3 separate regions of the Homo sapiens genome follow, and regions 1 and 2 are each linked to region 3. The links are contacts of gene promoters, found by promoter capture Hi-C in blood cells and fetal thymus (Javierre and others, 2016). All regions are on one chromosome and are shown on one strand. Each heading gives the region's core, a stretch centred on a gene start or on the middle of the fragment in contact. The rest is flanking DNA. Distances are from core to core; before and after follow the strand shown. Region 1 has its middle 7.2 kb from the start of GSTM4. Region 2 overlaps GNAI3 (G protein subunit alpha i3). Region 3 holds the start of CSF1 (colony stimulating factor 1).

What was found. The method cuts DNA at HindIII sites, captures the fragments that hold promoters and counts their contacts. A CHiCAGO score of 5 or more calls a contact.
Region 1: a contact is called between a fragment that was not itself captured here and the fragment with the promoter of CSF1 in region 3, in 8 of 17 cell types (M1 macrophages, M0 macrophages, M2 macrophages and 5 more). The highest score is 14.7, in M1 macrophages.
Region 2: a contact is called between a fragment that was not itself captured here and the fragment with the promoter of CSF1 in region 3, in 1 of 17 cell types (erythroblasts). The highest score is 6.0, in erythroblasts.

Annotation. Positions count from the first base shown.
Region 1 is chr1:109,647,204-109,650,627 of GRCh38, reverse strand. No RefSeq gene overlaps it. Among named protein-coding and RNA genes, the nearest start is that of GSTM4, 7.2 kb to the left of the region's middle. The HindIII fragment of the contact is 1,041 bases long and covers 730-1,770 here.
Region 2 is chr1:109,584,846-109,588,119 of GRCh38, reverse strand. It overlaps GNAI3 (G protein subunit alpha i3), which reads right to left. Exons shown (of 9, transcript NM_006496.4): 6 at 1,775-1,904; 7 at 1,238-1,391. Among named protein-coding and RNA genes, the nearest start is that of MIR197, 12 kb to the left of the region's middle. The HindIII fragment of the contact is 1,211 bases long and covers 942-2,152 here.
Region 3 is chr1:109,909,338-109,912,509 of GRCh38, reverse strand. It overlaps CSF1 (colony stimulating factor 1), which reads right to left and starts at 1,661. Exons shown (of 9, transcript NM_000757.6): 1 at 1,448-1,661. The coding sequence starts at 1,486. RefSeq lists enhancers at 275-374, 451-951, 952-1,452 and silencers at 1,238-1,347, 1,398-1,567. The HindIII fragment of the contact is 10,099 bases long and covers 345-3,172 here.

The sequences.
Region 1 (3,424 bases), core at 1-2,500, 260 kb after region 3:
TTGAATCCTCCAAGACCCCTCTTTTCTGTGTGATTTGCAGGAGCATTGATCTTGGTGACGCTACTGGGGTTAGCATGGTGGCCAGCTAAAGTATTACTAGAAATTCTGGGTCTTTGTGCATTGAATGGTGGTCTACTTTTATTACAGCTATTTCCTCAGGTAACAGCAAAGCAGCTGAAAGTTTTATTTTTAATCCGTCATCCAATTTTTGCAGATTTTTGTGGAGGTTAGAAAACTCTTCATTTCCAAAGCATTCCCAATTCACAGACTCCCCAAAAGTGCATCTGCCATTAGTGTATATGCTTACTCTTTTACACTTTAGCAGCCAGCAGACCCAGATGCAGGCAATTATTTCAGTCATTGGAGCTGATTTAATTTCTGGAGTGGTCTCTACTTTAAGGGTGAATTTAGGTCTGTGATAGCATTTTAAAATATGAACAAATAAAATCAGGTCAGGGCTATCCAAGGGAATTTCTAACAAGATGTTTTAAGAGCATGTGAAAAACACTGAGAGTTAACAGAATAATTTGGTGAAAAAAAATAACCTCTAGTAATCTGGGTGCAAAACAACTGAGTCATTTTACATGACAGAGCCAAATCCTAATTTTACTCCTTTGGTACATAATTTTCTAATAGATTATAATAAAGGCTCTATTAATATTCCTTTATTTGTATGCATTTAGGCATACACAGATATATAAATATACAAATAGGTAACAAATTAAAGCTTTCTTTTTTAAGTTGTAATAAAAACACTTAAAATGAGATCTGCTTGTTACCAGTGGAGGGCGTTCAGGTTCTTCGCATTTTGAACAAAGAACTGGACAGAACGCACAAACAAAACAAGGAGCAAACAAATTTTCATTTATTGAAAATGAAAGTACACTCCACAGGGTGGGAGCAGGCCAAGCATAGGGGCTCAAGAGCCCGGATTCAGAATCTTTTGGGGTCCAAATACCTCCTAGAAGTTTGCCATTGGCCACTTGGTGTTCACCCCATGCAAATGAATAGTGGTCCACAATCAGAGGCTGAAGTGAAGTTACAAAGTTACACTTCTATGCAAATATCTGATTGGCTGCAGAAAGCAACCAATCAGAGGAACTGTCCATTTTCCATCTGCAGAGCAGAAAAGCAGGGGGTTTGCAAAGGGAGTAGCTTCTGGTCCTTTTGTTACTTAGGCATGGAAAGTTGGGATTTTCCTTTCGATTTAGCTCTAGAAATTCAGTGTGAATCAGCCTTAGGTTCCCTGCCTCCAGACCCTATTCTCCTGCCGCATACTCTCTTAACAAATTTTTAAGTAAACAGGTACACAGTATTGTTAACTATGAGCACGGTGTTGTATAGCAGATATCTAGAATATGTTTATCTTGTATAACTGAAACTTTATACCTCTTGAATAGCAACTCTCCATTTTGTTACCGAAACACCAGGGATTCAGTCTGAGTCCTGCTGTTTGCTGCACAGATAGCCAACGGCTGAGATGATTACTGCCAAGGAAGAAGGCTTTAATAGAGTGCTGCAGTAGGGGAGATGAGAGATCAGTCTCAAATCCATCTCCCTGACTGGCTAAAATTAGGGGTTTATATAGCAGAGAAAAAAATGTAACAATGTATGGGAAAACAGGAATTCTGAAGGGCTAAGGAAGCAATCATGATGAATGAGGGGCCTGGCATCTCATTGTCTGGATGTGATGATCTGGTGAGTTTCCGTTCTTTGATACCTTCTGAGAGGCCTGGTATTTAATTGTCTGGATCTGGTGAGTTTCAAGCTTTAAGTTTATTTTTTAAAAACTGTCTATGTCCAGGCGCGGTGGCTCACGCCTGTAATCCCAGCACTTTGGGAGGCCGAGGCGGGCGGATCACGAGATCAGGAGATCGAGACCATCCTGGCTAACACGGTGAAACCCCGTCTCTACTAAAAGCACGAAAAATTAGCCGGGCGTGGTGGCGGGCGCCTGTAGTCCCAGCTACTTGGGAGGCTGGGGCAGGAGAATGGCGTGAACCCGGGAGGCGGAGCTTGCAGTGAGCCGAGATCGCGCCACTGCACTCCAGCGTGAGCGACAGAGCGAGACTCCGTCTCAAAACAAAACAAAACAAAACAAAACAAAAACTGTCTCTGGACAGTTGGATTGGTTTTAATTTCCTCCTCTCCCGATCCCCTGAAAACCGTCATTCTACTTTGTTTCTATGAGTTGGCCTATTTTGGATACCCCATGTCAGTGGAATCATGCAGTATTTGTTCTTCTGTGACGAGCTAATTTCACTTAGCATAATGTCCTCCAGGTTCATCCATAGTGTTATATATTGCAGAATTTCCTTCTTTTTAAGACTGATTAATATTTCACTGAATGTACATACCAAATTTTCTTTATTCATTCATCTGTTGATGAATAGTTAGGTCATTTTCATGTCTTGGATATTGTGAATAATGCTACAATGAACAAAGGACTGCTAATATCTCTTTGGGATCCTTCAGTTCTTTTGAATATATACCCAGAAGTGGGATTGCTGGATCATTTGGTAGTTCTATTTTTCATTCTTTTATGAACCTCTATATTGTTTTCCACAGTGGCTGCACAATTTTACTTTCCCACCAACCGTGTACAAAAGTTCCAATTTCTCCTCAACAGCACTTGTTACCAGTTGGGAGCTTGTCTCACTTTCTTTACCTTTTTTTTTTTTTTTTTTTTTTTTTTTTTTGACAATAGCCACTCTAACAGGTGTGAAGTGATATTTCATTGTGGTTTTGATTTGCATTTCTCTTATGATTAGTGATGTTGAGCATCTTTTCATATACCTGTTGGCCATTTGTATGCTTTCTTTTGAGAAATGTCTATTCAAGTCCTTTGCAAGGATGGCTCATCATATGTAAAACAATTAATGTGACACACCACGTTAACAAAATGAAGGATAAACATCAAATGATCATCTCAATAGATGCAGAAAAAGCATTTGACAAAATTCAACATCTTTTCATAGTAAAAACTCTCAACAAACTAGGTATAAAAGGAATTTTCCTTGACAAAATAAAGACCATATATGACAAGCTCACAGCTAACATTATACTCAACAATGAAAAACTGAAAGCTTTGTCTGTAAGATCAGGAACAAGGCAAAGAATACCCGCTCTTGCCACTTCTAGTCAACATAGTACTGGAAGTCCTAACGGAGCAATTAGGCAAGGAAAAGAAATTTAAAAGTCATACAAATTGGAAACGATTAAGTAACACTATCTCTGTTTGCAGATGACATAATCTTATATGTAGAAAACCCTAAAGACTCCACACACAAAAAAAAACTTAGAATGAATAAACAAATTCCATAAAGTTGCAGGATACAAGATCAACATACAAAAGTTAGTTATGTTTTGGTACACTAACAACAAAGTATCCAAAAGAAAATTACAAAAAACAATCCCATTTGCA
Region 2 (3,274 bases), core at 298-2,797, 320 kb after region 3:
CGTGAGCCACCGCGCCCAGCCTAGTCTGATCTTTTTACCAGAGATACAGAAACTGTGACTAGGCTGTTATCACATAAACTGAATAGCAGAGAAAGCTGGTTAGGAAAGAAAGAATAATAAAAAAGATACACAGAGAGGAGAGAAAAAAGATGGGGATAAAGAGTGCTTCCAGGGTTCCTGACAATTATTTCCTAGTTCTAATTCCATTCTAAGACCTGTCCATTCTTGCCCTTGGGTTCTATGATATATCCCTTAATCCCCATCAAAAGTTTTTATTTCCATCCTGAGTTCTTACTAATTCAAATCCCCTACTATCTATCTTTATTATTTATTGCATAATCTTTCTCAAGCACAGTTTCTTCTATATCATGCACCCCATGATATGGATCATGGTAGGATATTAAACCTTTAACTGATCATCGTCTCAGCATGAGATATAAGGCCCTCCATGAGTTGATCTCTGACCATCTCTCCAACCACTTCTTCCCTGCCACTGTAAACTCTAGTAATACCAAATTCCTTCTGGGTTCCACAACTGGTCATACCATTTTCCTACCTCCATATTCTCATATATGCAATTCCTCTTTTCTAAAATGCTTTTATTCCCGTCTGCCTGATGATTTCTATTTCATCCTCTTAGTAGCTCTAGAAAAAGACTACAGTGACCCCATCAGAAGTAACCACTTCTATTCCACTTCTATTAATGCATATTTTACACTATAATAAAATTATTTATGTGCAATTAAACACTATAATAAAATTATTTATGTCTCTCTGCAACTACATGTCAGTCTCTTGGGCACAATGATTAAAATTTACCCTTGTATTTTCTTCAACATATACCAAATTTTACTTTATTTTTTGTGAGGCAGGGGGGTGTCACTATGTTGCCTAGACTGATCTCAAACTCTTGGGCTCAAATGATCCTCCTGCCTCAAGCTTCCAAGTAGCTAGAATTATAGCCACCATGCCCAGCTCCCAAATTTACTTTTTCTCCTTTTGTATTTTCCTCAAAAAATGAAGATAGAAATTTAAAATAAACACAGAAAACTCAATTGTGTCTGATATGGCACTCTTGACTTAGGGGCTTTTAATCACAGGCTTAATGCCAATGCCACTACCACTGAATACTCTCCCAATCAATCATTAAAAAAAAAAAGGCAGTTTTATGAATGCCACCAAAGTGTTGATCTAAGTAAGATGTGTACCTCCAATAAAATCTTTCATAACCCCTTACCTGTGTATTCTGGATAACAGATAGTTAACGGACTCCTCTTTATTTTTTCCTCAAAAAGGTCTTTCTTGTTAAGGAAGAGAATGATTGAAGTTTCTGTAAACCATTTGTTATTACAAATGCTGTCAAACAGTTTCATGCTTTCATGCATTCGGTTCTGAAAAAGAAATAAAGGATGATAGGTCAGTAGCAAATAGTAAAAGTGGATTAAGTTAATGAAAAAGACAAACCAACAAGTTTTGCAGCACTAAATGGCATTCACGGAAATAAGTCAAACACCAATAAGATAAAGTTGAGTGTCAGTCCTCATTTTTGTAATTTTTGGGGGAGAGGAGGTAGGAGGAAGGGCTGGCTAACATCCTTTCCACATACTCAAGGTGGCTATAACATCTTTTTTAGAGTAATAGGGCACAGATCAAAAAAATTAAAGATACTAAGTTTTGGTTGAATGAGGAAATGGATGCAGATAATCTTCCTAATAAGTTATTTTCCATTTCCTGGCTACATTAGACAGGCTTTTTACCAGAAGCTCCAACATACCATCTCCTCGTCCTCAGCCAGAACAAGGTCATAATCACTGAGGGCCACACAGAAGATAATTGCTGTCACTCCCTCAAAACAGTGAATCCACTTTTTTCGTTCTGATCTTTGGCCACCTACATCAAACATCCTGCGCAAGGGGAAAGAAAGCAAATTCAGCAAGGTCACACATACACCTTCCCCTAAACTGAAATGATTAGGAAACTTCCCACTATTACATATTCAAAACTTCATTTATAATAGAAGAAAAAGAATAGATTAAATGCAGTCAAAATAATTATCCTGGCTAAAAGTACAAGACAACAACATGAGAAAATAAAACTTGTGAATAATCTAGATTCTCATTTTAGATAGCTGAGCCTCTTCTCTATCAAAGCTTGTACCAGATGTGTGAAAAGTCAGCAGAATAAGCACTGAAATGGATTAAAGGAAGGAGGGGAAAAGACAGGAAAAGCAAAGAGCTAAATAAAACAGTTTGAGATAATAATAATAATGGTATATTTATTGAGTGCTTACCATGGTGCCAGACACTACTACTAAACATCTTAACTCATTTTGCCCTTGTAACACTCCTAGAAGTACTATTATTATTATCCCAATTATACAGATAAAGAAATTGAGGCACATTCAATGTTAAATGATTTGCTCAAAGGTACACTACTAACAAACAGGGACTGGGGATCTGAACCTAGGCACTCTAACTCCAGCACCCATGTTCTGACTCTCAAAATGGTTTGCCTCTAAATGCCCTATTTGCACTCTGCTTCCATAACTTCTCCCTATTAAGTTTGTTTTCCTTACCTTAAAAAAAAAATTAGAGATTAATTGTAAAAACAAATAAATTATATTTTTATGGTAGGATTCTATGAACCCAATAACTAAAAAACAGCCTTGACCAATATTTCCAAACTCCGAGTCTTACTTAAACCTAATTAATAAAGTCTCAACTGTTCACAAACTTTATGTTACACTCCATATTAGTTTTAGTCCAATACTGTCTTCTGGGTGACTTACTTGGTATTCTGAGTCAACTGCTGAACTTCTATCAACAGCATCCTCAACTACCTCCTATAGTAAAAAGATCTGCACTGCTTTGTGTTTTAGCTGATACTTAGGTCTAATGATGTACACATGCAAATTGTTACTTGTGATCGGTGTTTGAAGAAAATGACACAATTTTTAAAGGCTAAACTCTGCCAAACTGGTTTAATGTATAAGATCTATAGTGACTAGAGGCCTACATTTCCAGAGATGTTTTCCCCCAGAAATTGAAAGAAATAAGACACAGTTGGTGATTTCTCAATGTATGCTTGAAAGGAATTATCTCTTTATGACCCAACTCTTCCTTTGGGTTGATCTTGCACGATTCTTTTTGACCTTTGGTCATGACACCTGAAATGATGTAATCACAAGTTGGCTTTAATATAGGGTCACAATACAGGTTTTAGGAAGGCTAACATCATATATTTCACCATGGAGGTCTCAAGGGGAGACACACCA
Region 3 (3,172 bases), core at 412-2,911:
TCTGCCTCAGGAGGATCTGGACAGACAGTGGGGGGTTAACACTCTGGCTTGCATCTGGCTGGGCAGGCTCTCCTCTGACTGCCTCTTCCTCCCACCCCTAGCCCTGGCTTCTGCCTGGGGAGCAGCCCTCAGAAGGAATCTCTGCTGCAGGCTCAGAGATGCTAGGACACCTCAGTCCAGCTGTCCAGCCTCCTCTGCCACCTATCCTATTCCATTTCATCTTCCCCCTCAACAAGGCCTCTGGAGAGACCTGGCAGAACCGGGCCCTTGGACTTCCCCTGTCTAAACACAGCCCCCTTGTCTTTCTCTTCTTTCCTCATGGTCTCCCCTTCAGCCCCGAAGCTTTGCTTTCTGCCTATGGCTAACCCTTCTCCCTTCCCCTCTCAACTCTATCTCCTCTCTCTCAGTGAGGCACTTTCTTTCTGTGGACCCACTCTTCCCTTTCTCTCTCACCTCACCTGCAGCCCGCTCTCCTCTACCCCCAAATAATTTTCTGCTCTTTTCCCCCCAGGTTTCCCCTCTCATTTTCTTCCAGGACTCCTCAGAAGCAAATCTATTATGAGCCCACTGACTGGTCATGAACAGTGCCACCCTCACTTTCTATGGCTGCATCTGCTACCGCCACAGTTGGGGCAGGGCGTCCCTTACGCAGTCAGGAGCAGACCCTGCCCCTGGACACAGCTCTGCAACACCAAACCCTCTTTCCATTTTCCTCAAGCACTGCAAACCACCATAAACCACCACAAAGCCCAGAATCTCCCCAACCGATGAAACCAGAATTTGCAAGAAAAAGAGATTCTGAGCTAGCCCCAAGCAGCCCCGGGGGTGGGGGGCTGTTTGCCGGCTGTTGCCGTCCCCCACCCCACCCCCCAAACAGCCACCCAAGTCCTCCGTAGCTCCTGCCTGTGGGCTGGAACAAGCAGTGGCTTGCCCCTCTCCGTCCCTCTGCCAGCAAGTCCCTGGCGTTCTATAAGCTGGTTGACCCCCTGAACTTTCCCTGCCCAGAAGCGCCCACTCCTCAGCAGGGCCTTGGAAGCACGTGTGTGGCCGATGAGGAAGGTGCCCACCGGGGAGGGCACACACTCAGCGCACAGCCACTCCGCCCGTGCCTTGGTGGTGGCGGGTAGGGAGAGAGGCAGGGCACCCTGGCTGAGCGGGGGCTCCTGCCTGCAGGTGGCTCAGTGTTCCCCTCCGTGCAATGGGGTGAGCAGCCCTCCGTTTCCCAGGGAAGCCTGGCAGTCCCGGTGCAGCTGCAGGGCCGCCACCGGCCTCCGCCCTGGCGCCAGGGCCCAGTCCGTGCGCAAAGGCGGTTCGTCCGCGGCGGGAACGCCGGGCCAGTGCAGCCGGCGCGCCCAGGCTGTCGGCTCCGAGGGGCCGCTCCCGGCCGCCTGGCCGCCGAGCCCCCGCCCCAGCCCGTCCCGGGCCCAGCGCCGCGGCCGTCGCTTACCGTGGGAGGGCAGCGCCCGGCGGCGCCCGGCGCGGTCATACGGGCAGCTGGGTCCCGGCCGGGCGCGTCGGCCGCCCTCGCTCGCTCGCTCGCTCGCTGGCTGCTGCGGAGTGGGCGCCCCGGCCGAGGGCCGCACCGCTGTCCTGGGATGCGGAGAGCGGCTCTGGCGCCGAGAGGACCCAGGCAAACTTTCACTTTCCCCGGGCCGAGCCTCACTGGCCAGCCCTCGGCACAGCCTTTTAAGAGAGGACTGGGGGGCATGTGGTTTATGGGAAATCACCCTGGCCAGGCGCCAGACACACACATACACACACACACACACACACTGACACAGACACACACACTCCAGAGGCCCACTCAGCCGCCTTCCCCCGCCTCCCCTCCCCCACCCGCCGGCCGGCCAGCCCCGCTCGCGCGTCTTCCTAGTCACCCTCTGTCTTCTGCGCTGCACTTCCAAGCCTTCAGCAAACGAGCGCGGGCTCCACCGCGTCCCCACCCTGCCTTCCCCGCGCCCTCTGCGGACCGACCCTTTCCTTCCGCGCTCTCCAGGCTGATTCAGTGCTAGCGCTCTATGATCGTCCCAAGGGACTTTCCCTCCAGGCCTGAAAATCCCCAAATCTTAGCAGAAAACGGACCGAGAGCAGGGACAAGCACTGGGAAGGGAGGGAAATCCTTTGAAGACGCCCCCACCCCATTCTCGGAGTGCCGAAAGGAGTCCAGTGTTACTTGCTCCCTCGTGGAGCCTGAGTCAGCAGGTTTGCCGGCAGCCCCCTTCTTCCTCTGCAGCCCCCAAGCAGCCCGGCCAGCTTCAAGTCCCATTCTGGGAGGGAGGCCAGCTACCTGGCCAGGAAGGGAGCAGCTGTGTCCTGTGACAGCAAGCTGGGGGGCTCTTCCCTGGGTGCCAGCAGACACTTCAAGGCACCTGACCCTTAGATGATGAAAATGCTGGCTGGTACCCATGCTCTCTCCTGGAGGCAAAATCCAACTCAGATTGGAAAGGTCCTGCACCTGGACCCTAGATTTCCCTGGATGTTTTTGGAAATTGCACTTACTGAGGTGATTAATCACGTTTTGTTTCTACATGAGAATGAGTCTAAGTGAGGACTAGTAGGATGAGCCTAAGCCTATTAATTATAATGCCAACTTCAGGAGATTTTTCTTTCTTCAATTCATTATGATTCAATTCCTCTGTGAGGTTGCCCGTTTCCACCCCCTGGGAAATAAAGGATATGTGGCCTGCTCTTGAAGAGGAGTCTCTTGTCAGTAGCGCTACATATCCTTCACTCCAATCCTAGGCAATAATTTTACACCCGAATGCCTTTGCTCAGACTGGTCCCTCTGCCTGGAATGCTCCTTTCTCCACATGGCTGAAGACAAACTCCTCATCATTTCAGGCTGAAATTGCATCTCATCCTCCACCAGCAAAGCCTTCTGTGACTCTCCTGGCAGAGCAAAGGGTCCTTTTCCTGTGTTCCCATTGGACTTGGCTCATTCCTCAATGCTGGCTCTGATAAGTCATTTGCCATCCATTCATTCTCCACAGTACTTTTCGAAGTGTTTAAGGTGGTACCGATGGTTACATTCTGTCCCCACCCTAGACCGAGACTTCTTCCAGGTGGCACCCATGCTCAGTCACCTCTGGATCAATGGTACCTAGCACATAATAGGTACCAAGTTAATGATGGCTGAGTTGAATGATGCCATTAGAGAATACTTTGTTCTTTT